2 separate regions of the Homo sapiens genome follow, and region 2 is linked to region 1. The links are contacts of gene promoters, found by promoter capture Hi-C in human tissues and cell types (Jung and others, 2019). All regions are on one chromosome and are shown on one strand. Each heading gives the region's core, a stretch centred on a gene start or on the middle of the fragment in contact. The rest is flanking DNA. Distances are from core to core; before and after follow the strand shown.

What was found. Contacts are between HindIII fragments. The study calls those that stand out against the background at their distance.
Region 2: a fragment that was not itself captured here is called in contact with the fragment with the promoter of RRH in region 1 in 1 of the 25 tissues and cell types used here (bladder).

Annotation. Positions count from the first base shown.
Region 1 is chr4:109,825,837-109,829,997 of GRCh38, forward strand. It overlaps RRH (retinal pigment epithelium-derived rhodopsin homolog), which reads left to right and starts at 2,136. Exons shown (of 7, transcript NM_006583.5): 1 at 2,136-2,297. The coding sequence starts at 2,192. The HindIII fragment of the contact is 8,882 bases long and covers 1,042-4,161 here.
Region 2 is chr4:109,859,855-109,864,015 of GRCh38, forward strand. All of the region lies in intron 2 of LRIT3 (leucine rich repeat, Ig-like and transmembrane domains 3), which reads left to right. Among named protein-coding and RNA genes, the nearest start is that of LRIT3, 14 kb to the left of the region's middle. The HindIII fragment of the contact is 4,650 bases long and covers 87-4,161 here.

The DNA of each region.
Region 1 (4,161 bases), core at 886-3,385:
GCAATAATGGAAATAACATATAGATCAGTAGACAAACCAGTTGGAAATTTTACCGTTTAGCTTATGTATATCTTTTTTTCATTGTCCATCTTTAAGCTTTTATTTCCACATCTTTTCCTTTTTTTTCCTTATAGTTTCTGGGTTTATTTATTTGTTTATTTATTATTATTATTTTTTGAGACGGAGTTTTGTTCTTGTTGCCCAGGCTGGAGTGCAATGGTGCAATGTCGGCTCACTGCAACCTCTACCTCCCGGGTTCAAGCGATTCTCCTGCCTCAGCCTCCCAAGTAGCTGGGATTACAGGCATGCGCCACCATGCCCGGCTAATTTTGTATTTTTAGTAGAGATGGGGTTTCTCCATGTTGGTCAGGCTGGTCTCGAATTCCTGACCTCAGGTGATCCGCCTGCTTTGGCCTCCCAAAGTGCTGGGATTACAGGTGTGAGCCACTGCGCCTGGCCTAGTTTCTGGGTTTTTTTGAGGCATTTCATTTTGAATCAAATTCACATGTATTTCTAAGCCTTATCCCAATATAGCTTTTCTGTATCACCCATGAAGGAAGCATAAAAAAGAACTTCAAATGCACCTACCTCACTCATATCAAAACTTTCATCTGCAGCAGAAAGCTGACTATCTGAAATTATATATTTTTCAGTTCTTAGAAATAATTATTTCTGGAAAATTTTTCATGGATGCTACAACTAGGTATAACTTATTACAGAAAAGGAAGGTAGTATGACCCAAAGCAAATTCAAAAATTTTAAGTTTTGTTTTGCATATTGAATGAAAGAAAAGACAAAGACTTTTTAAAGGGAGTGATTTCCTCTTGGGTATTATGTTTTTTGCTCTAGGGTCATTTGAAAACAATACTGACGAGATTCGCTTTTCTAGTATAGGTATAACAATATTACATTTATAAAAATGTGAGTACTGGTAGCTATAAGATTTGGGACAGATAAATCAACCTGTTCATCTTGAGTTTATACACAGGCAAGAGAACTGAAGCAAAAGGATTATCTTAGGTTTCTGCTGTGCCATTCTAGGATTTTTATAAAATTAAACTAAGTGGGTAAATATAGCCCTCTAGTGGTTCTGTTTTATGCTTACACTGTTAACTTTGGTGCATCTAAGCATTTCTCTAATGTTTACTGATTTTAGGAAACTGAGGAGAATCAGATTTTAATAATGTTAATGGCATAAAGAATATGGGAAAAAAGGTAATAGGGATACCTTATTATTCTAACAAAACATGCTCAGGTTGGTTTTCAGGTTGTAATGTGATAATCCAGAATATTTTTATTCTGTACTTTACAATATCAGTGATTGAATTCAGATACTCTGGCAAAGTATACAATGATTACTATCATCAGATAATATTAATTACTCATGTGCATATCAAACTATAGGGGAAATTAACGGATGGTGGAGTTGATCATATTATATCCATGCTATGAAATACATAGCTACTAATAAATTAGACTTTATTAGATTCTGGGTTTATTAACTTGGATATTATAATACAGCCTTATGGGAAAACAAGTTGCATTATATATATACATTTGTACTTATTTTTTTCCCTCATTTTTATTTACAAGAAGAAAGTGGAGGAAACCTGAAACACTTGTATGAATATGTGTATAAGCAGAGAAAAGCCTAAGAAAGGATATGCACCAAACAATACTGGTACCTTTAGGAGAGTGAGATTTGGAAGTAGGAAGGAGACTACTTCTTTGTCACTAATATTTAAATTGTTAAGAAAAAAAAAACAACAAAAGGAGCCGAAATGGAAAGACTTGAATGGTCAACAGAAAACAGGGACCTTAATCCGAATAGTTTTAGAGGACTAAGGCTGGCTCCTATACTGATTTCCTGAGTTTGTTTATTGTTAAATGGGATGTGTGTGCTTGATAATCTCCTTAGATAGAAGACTGATGCCCAAATAGGTTAAAATGTGTGGTGCTTGGTATTTCTTTTTGTTTTGCTAATAAGCTTTTCCCTTATTCTGGGAATTAAAGTCCTTTCCTCTTTAGCCCAATTAAATTTGTTAAGGGAGGGCCTCTATGAAAAGGCCCTTCTTTGAGGTCTCTAAGTGGAAATGATTGGTCCTAAAAAATCTTTCCTCAGTAGCTCATAAAGCAGTTCATAATTATCGAAGGCTTATTATGAAGGGTGTTTCGGTATCTTCCCTCCAAAATGCTAAGAAATAATTTAGGCAACAGTTCAGACTCTAAAAATGAAGATGGCTCGGTCTTTTCACAGACTGAACACAATATTGTTGCAACTTACTTGATTATGGCAGGTATGGATATTTAAGTAAGTTATTTTTCTTTAGAATGGGTGAAGAAAGGCAGAAGTTTTCAGCATAAGGCATGCATTGTTTCAAGTTCCATATTATTGGCCAACCTTGACAAGTCATTTATCCTGACTTGGCTTGCTCGTTGGTAAATGAGGATGATGATACTCTATTTCTGGGCTGTAAAGATCAAATAAGATAATGTGGGTGAAAGAATAAGGGAAAGCATTGTTAGTGATGGCCATTGCCACAGGTTATTTTGAATTTTGGTAAATAAGAGCAGTGAAGTGGGGCTGAGAAAAGTTTTCTATGTGATAAATAGTTCTTTCATAAAAATCTATGTATTTGATTATTGGATTGTTAAAGTTTTTATTGGAGAAGAGTATGCACCATGGCAAAAACATATTTTTATGTCATTTACTATTCTTATACATAACCCTCATATTTTTGTTCTTGGTGGTAGAATTTAGCTAAGAACTTAAAGGTTCTGGAAAGAAAAAGTCCTAAGAAGACAGAGCAGGGTATATTGTCATTGAGGACAGAGTCTGAAAATTCAGCTTGTTCCAGAATGCTTATTGGAAAACTCTTGAGTTTTGGATTTCATCTTTTAGTATATTTGCAACTGTGAGCATGTATCTTCCCTTTTTGTTCTTCCATTTTCTCATCTGTAAAACAAGGATAAGAATAAGTTATCTGTCATGATTGTTATAAGGAGTAAAATTAAGTGACACATAAATGCCATATAGTAGGTGTTGGACAAATATTTGTTTCTTTTTCCCTTTCCTCCCTACACACTCATTGATGTAAAGGATTGTTTGCAGAAAAAAAGGGATGGGGGAATGACAGAAACTTTTTATCTTTTTAATGTATCATTGAATTGTGTAACTTTTATATTGAGCAATCACTTAATTTTCAACTTTATACTCTAACGAGTTGTAGAAGTAACTCTTATATTGAGTTCATTATTTTTTGGATTGACTTTTATAAAAATTTTCAAACATTCAAAAGTAGAGTGAAAAGTATAACACACCATCCTATACCCAGTTTATAATTGTTTACGTTTCTTCCTTATAATTCAGCGTATTACTTCTAGTACTGGAAATTGAGTTCCTCAGTTAAGTTTTGCGATTTTAGTGACGTTATCTCGTTCATTTGAATACCTCTATGATAAGTACTAGACAAGTTCTAGTTTTTTTGTAATTGCAAAAAAGACTGAGAAAATCTCCTAACAATTACATGGAAATACTTTGTATACAAGTGTTTGGTTTAGTTAGTTATTTGTAGATGACCAAAAAAAAAAAAAATCCAAAAAACAACCAAAACTATCCTTTTTTGACCTGGTTACAAAATTAGCATGCAGAAAATATTCTATTTAGTTCTTATCTCTGTAACAGTAATAATAATAGTAATCTTACTACTACTGCTACTAATGTTATCATTTGAATACTTGCTATATACCAAGCACTGTTCTAAAACCTTACACATACAGAATAATTCATCCTTACACTAATTTAGTAAGTTACTCTTCAGTTTTATTTCTCTAGTTTATACAGATGAAGAGCTTAAGAAACTTGTCCAGCACACACATTTACTAAGCAGCTACACCAGGATTTGAACCCAGGCATTTTGGTTCTAGAGCCCTCACATATAAATCCAAGAGTCAGCTTTATCAAGGTATACAATGAGTGTGTGTTGTTTGTGTTTCTGGTGGATCCACTGAAGGAAGCATAGCTGAACTCTTTATGCTTTTGTTCTGCCCCTGTATCAAGCATCTATTTTTCTTTAGATCCCCTAACTTTCCTCCTTTAACAAAACTCACTTAAAGTTGCAAATCAAAACCAAAACTATGAGGAAAGGGTGTAGTGAAAGC
Region 2 (4,161 bases), core at 1,162-3,661, 34 kb after region 1:
CCTGCATGCAATTTTGTACTTACAATAATCAGGAGCATTTCATCTTTTATTCCATAGCAATAGTTTCAAGGGGTCTCCCTACATAAGGTGAGGCTTTTCAATTACTCTTTCTCTTCTACAGGAGTAAAAACATCAACTTAGTAAAATTGTCCTTTATTGTATCCATGAATACTTAAACTATTGCCCTGCAAATAAACATTGGAATTAACTATAAAACCAGGTTTTGTTTTGCAATGCAGGTAAATTTCCATGGCCTGTTTCTTAAGATTAAGTAAATATTTACACAGGCATATTCTGTAAGTCCTGACACTGTTTGTCTCAGAGAAAAAGGCCTGTGGTAGAATAAAACATAAAATGCTTTTTTTTTGGGGGTGTTGTTTTACTTGTACCCAAATTTGCTGAATTGTAAACATGGGCTCTTTTCCTATTTGAAATGGAGTTTGCCTGAAGGATGGTGGCAGCCCTAGTATTTCCAGACTTTTCTAAAATGGTGTTAATTTAGTTCAAAAAACACTTATCAATCTCTGTAGATGTGCCCCACCCTTTTTTGGTTTGAGGAAACAAATCCACATAGGTAAGGTTTATGCCTTGCTGGGTGCTCTAATCCTCACCCTCTTTCTATAGCTGGCAGAGTCAAGTTTCAAATTTACAGTTAATCTCCAAAGACATCACTCTTTACTTTTTAAAACCTTGTTTTTAATGGAGACATTAAGGTATACTTTGTATAGGTGGAATGCAGGATTGTAAGTCTACAGTTTGTTAAATTCTGATAAATGTATACCCTTACATAACTTACACCATCATCAAGATACAGAATATTTCCATGACCTCAGAAAGTTCTGTGTTTCTTTCCAGTCAATCTTGCCTCACCTATTTGAATTTTCATCACTATAGGTTAATTGTGCCTGCTCTAGAATGTTATGTAAATGGAATCATATAAGATGAACCTTTGTGCCAGGCTTCTTTCACTCAGCATCATGTTTTTGAAAATCATCCATGCTGTCGCATGTATTGGTAGTTCATTATTGCAAAATTGTATTCAATTGTATGAATGAAGCAATTGTTCATCCTTTCTCCTGATGTTGGACACATGGGTGTTTCGAGTTTGGGGCCATAATAAATTAAGCTGCAATTAACATTCTTGTACAAAGCTTTTTGTGGCACATGTTTTCATTTCATTATCTTGGATAAATTCCTAGAATTGAAATTGCTGGATTATAGAATGGCTATATGGCTGGGGGCCATGGCTCACTCCTGTAATCCCAACACTTTGGGAGGCGAAGGCAGGCAGATCACTTTTAGTCAGGAGTTTGAGACCAGCCTGGTCAATGTGGCGAAACCCTGCCTCTACTAAAAAATACAAAAATTAGCCAGGTGTGGTGGTGCATGCCTATAGTCCCAGCTACTCAGGTGAGGTAGGAGAAACCTGGGAGGCAGATGTTGCAGTGAATTGAGATCACGTCACTGCACTACATCCTGGGTGGAAAAAAAAAAAAAGAGAAAAAGAATGGCTATATGTATAACTTTTAAGGAAACTTCCTGTTTTCCAAAGAGACTGTATAACATTATACATTCCCACTAGCACTGCATGACAGTCTGGTTGCTCCATATCCTCACCAACACTTAATGTTGTTGGTCTTTTTCATTTCAGCTATTCTGGGGGGTGGGTGGGTCAGGAAGCGGTATCACAATGTGTTTTTAATTTCCATTTCCCTGATTATTAATGGTGTTGGCCAGATTTTCATTTGCTTATGGGTCACTGTATATCTTCCTTTATGAACTATCTTTTGCTTAATTTTTAAGGGCTATTTGTCTTTTCTTTATTGAATATAAGTCTTTTGTCTGTTATATGCACTGTGAATATTTTCTCCAAGGCTGACTTGCCTATTTATTTTTTCCTGGTGTCTTTAGTAAAAAAAGGTTTACATTTTGATGACATTTGATTCATTAGTTTTTTCCTTTTACAGTTAGTGCTTTCTGTGTATCATCTAAAACATGTTTGCCTACCTCAAAATCACAGATATGATATTTTCTTATAGTTTTAGCCTTTATACTCAATTTTTAGCTGTATATTCTTAGCTCTTAGGCTTATAGCTATTATCCATCTCAAAATAGTTTTGGAGTATTGTGTAAAGTAGGGGTTGAGGTTCATATGCTTGCAAACACGTGTCCACTTGTTCCAGCACCATTCATTAAAAAGACGTTCCTTTCCCTACTGAATTGTTAAACATGGTTGTCTCCACAAAGCTGAGTAGGCATAGTCTTTGCCTTCAAGGGCTTATAGTCCTCAGAATAACTTTTGTACAAAAATTTATTGCTCACTTTTCACACAAAAATAGCGCATTTAGTCCAACTATTCTGATGCATATAAATACTATTCTTTTAGAAAGGATAAAGTTCACTTGTCCCATCCAAGAATAGTTATATAAAGTAAACTAATTAATGCAAATTAGTGTAATTGTAGTTGATGTATTGCCTTGAAGGAATGCAGTGCAAGTAACAGTTTAACTTGAGAGAGTTCTCTTTCCTTTGTCCTCAGAAGAAAAAAACACTTAAATATATTCAGTTCTTGGATCACTATTTTTATTCAGGTTTTAAAAATTGTACCTTTGACCTTAGAAGTTTCAAGCTGGAGTAAATAGACATTTTATTTTTGAAGGATTTAAAAATATTTACATAACTTTTATATATAACCAGTGAAATTAATTTTTTAAAGAATTTTCTTTCACCATTAATACATTTTTTAATAATTTCAAAGCATGAAATAAATTGTTAACATTGTATAGCTCTTAAATCTTTCCCTGTGTAAACATTTATACTCCAGATATTGCTGCTTTAACATTTTTAAATTTTATTTTATTTTGAAAGAGTATCTCACTTTGTCACCCAGGCTGGAGTGCAGTGGCACAAACCATGACTCCTGGGCTCAGTTGATCCCCTCAACTCAGCCTCCTGGTAGCTGGGACAACAGGCAAGTGCCGCCACCATACCTGGCTAATTTTTGTATTTTTGTATTTTTTGTAGAGACAGGATCTTGCCATGTTGCACAGGCTGGCCTTGAACTCCTGACCTCAAGCAATCTTCCCACCTCAGCCTCACAAAGTGTTGGGATTACAGGTGTGAGCCATTGTGCCTGGACATTTTTTTATTTGTAAATAATAGCGCTTATGACTGTCACTATGACTCTAAATGTTTTTAGATGGCAAAGAGATGAGTTATGATAGAAAGGGTATTAGATTAGGATGCTAAAAAAATCTGGGATGTAGGATTCTAAGCCATTTACAAAGTCAAGATAGTAATATCTTTGTGCTTTGGCTTCCTTTGGTGTAAAACTGGAAGAATAATACCAGATTCCAGAGGTGGTAGAAGGCATAACATGGCGGTTAAGAGCTTTAACCACTGTGGTGGGTGGTTAAAACCTTTAACCAGCATGGTGGTTTAAGATCAGGATACTGAAGTTCAAATCCTGGCTGTCCAATTGTGTGACCCTGGGCAGATTCCTTAAGCTTCCTGAACCTTGGTTTTCTCATCTTTAAAATGGGGATGATAATAGTACTACCTATCCCATGCTTTTGTGAGGATTGAGTCAGTCCATCCTTCAGACGCTTAGTGCCGTTGTTCTTTGATCTCCTGAATCTCTGCATGTCTTGTGAGCAGAGGCAGACATTGATTACCTTTTATTCTGCACTATCTTTTCAAGGATTACCTTTTATTCTGCACTATCTTTTCAAGAGAACAGCTTTGGAGGTAGAAATATATCTCCTTCCAGAGCAAAGGGTAAGCATGCTTACTACCCAGTATAATAAAGATGTCTCCCTTCAGTGCTGTGAGCAATGAGCTCCTTCAACCCTGAGCAGGAGTCTTGTGTCTTCTACCAACATCCATAAAACGATGGCAGGCAAACTTGCCCATATCTGAGAAGTTTCCCAGAATGTGGACCTCTCAGTGCTAAAAGCAAGAAAGTCCTGGGCAAACTGAAATGAGTTGCTGGCAAACTGGAATAGGTTGGTCACCCTAAAGTAGGGTCAAATCTCAGAGCCTCTGCAGTTTTGGAGAAGCACGGTCTTTGCCACATAGGAAGCAATCAAAACTTGTAACTTGCATTGGTAGTATTACATAAAGAAAAAAATCTGGCATAAGTTGAAGTGTTTTCAAACTATG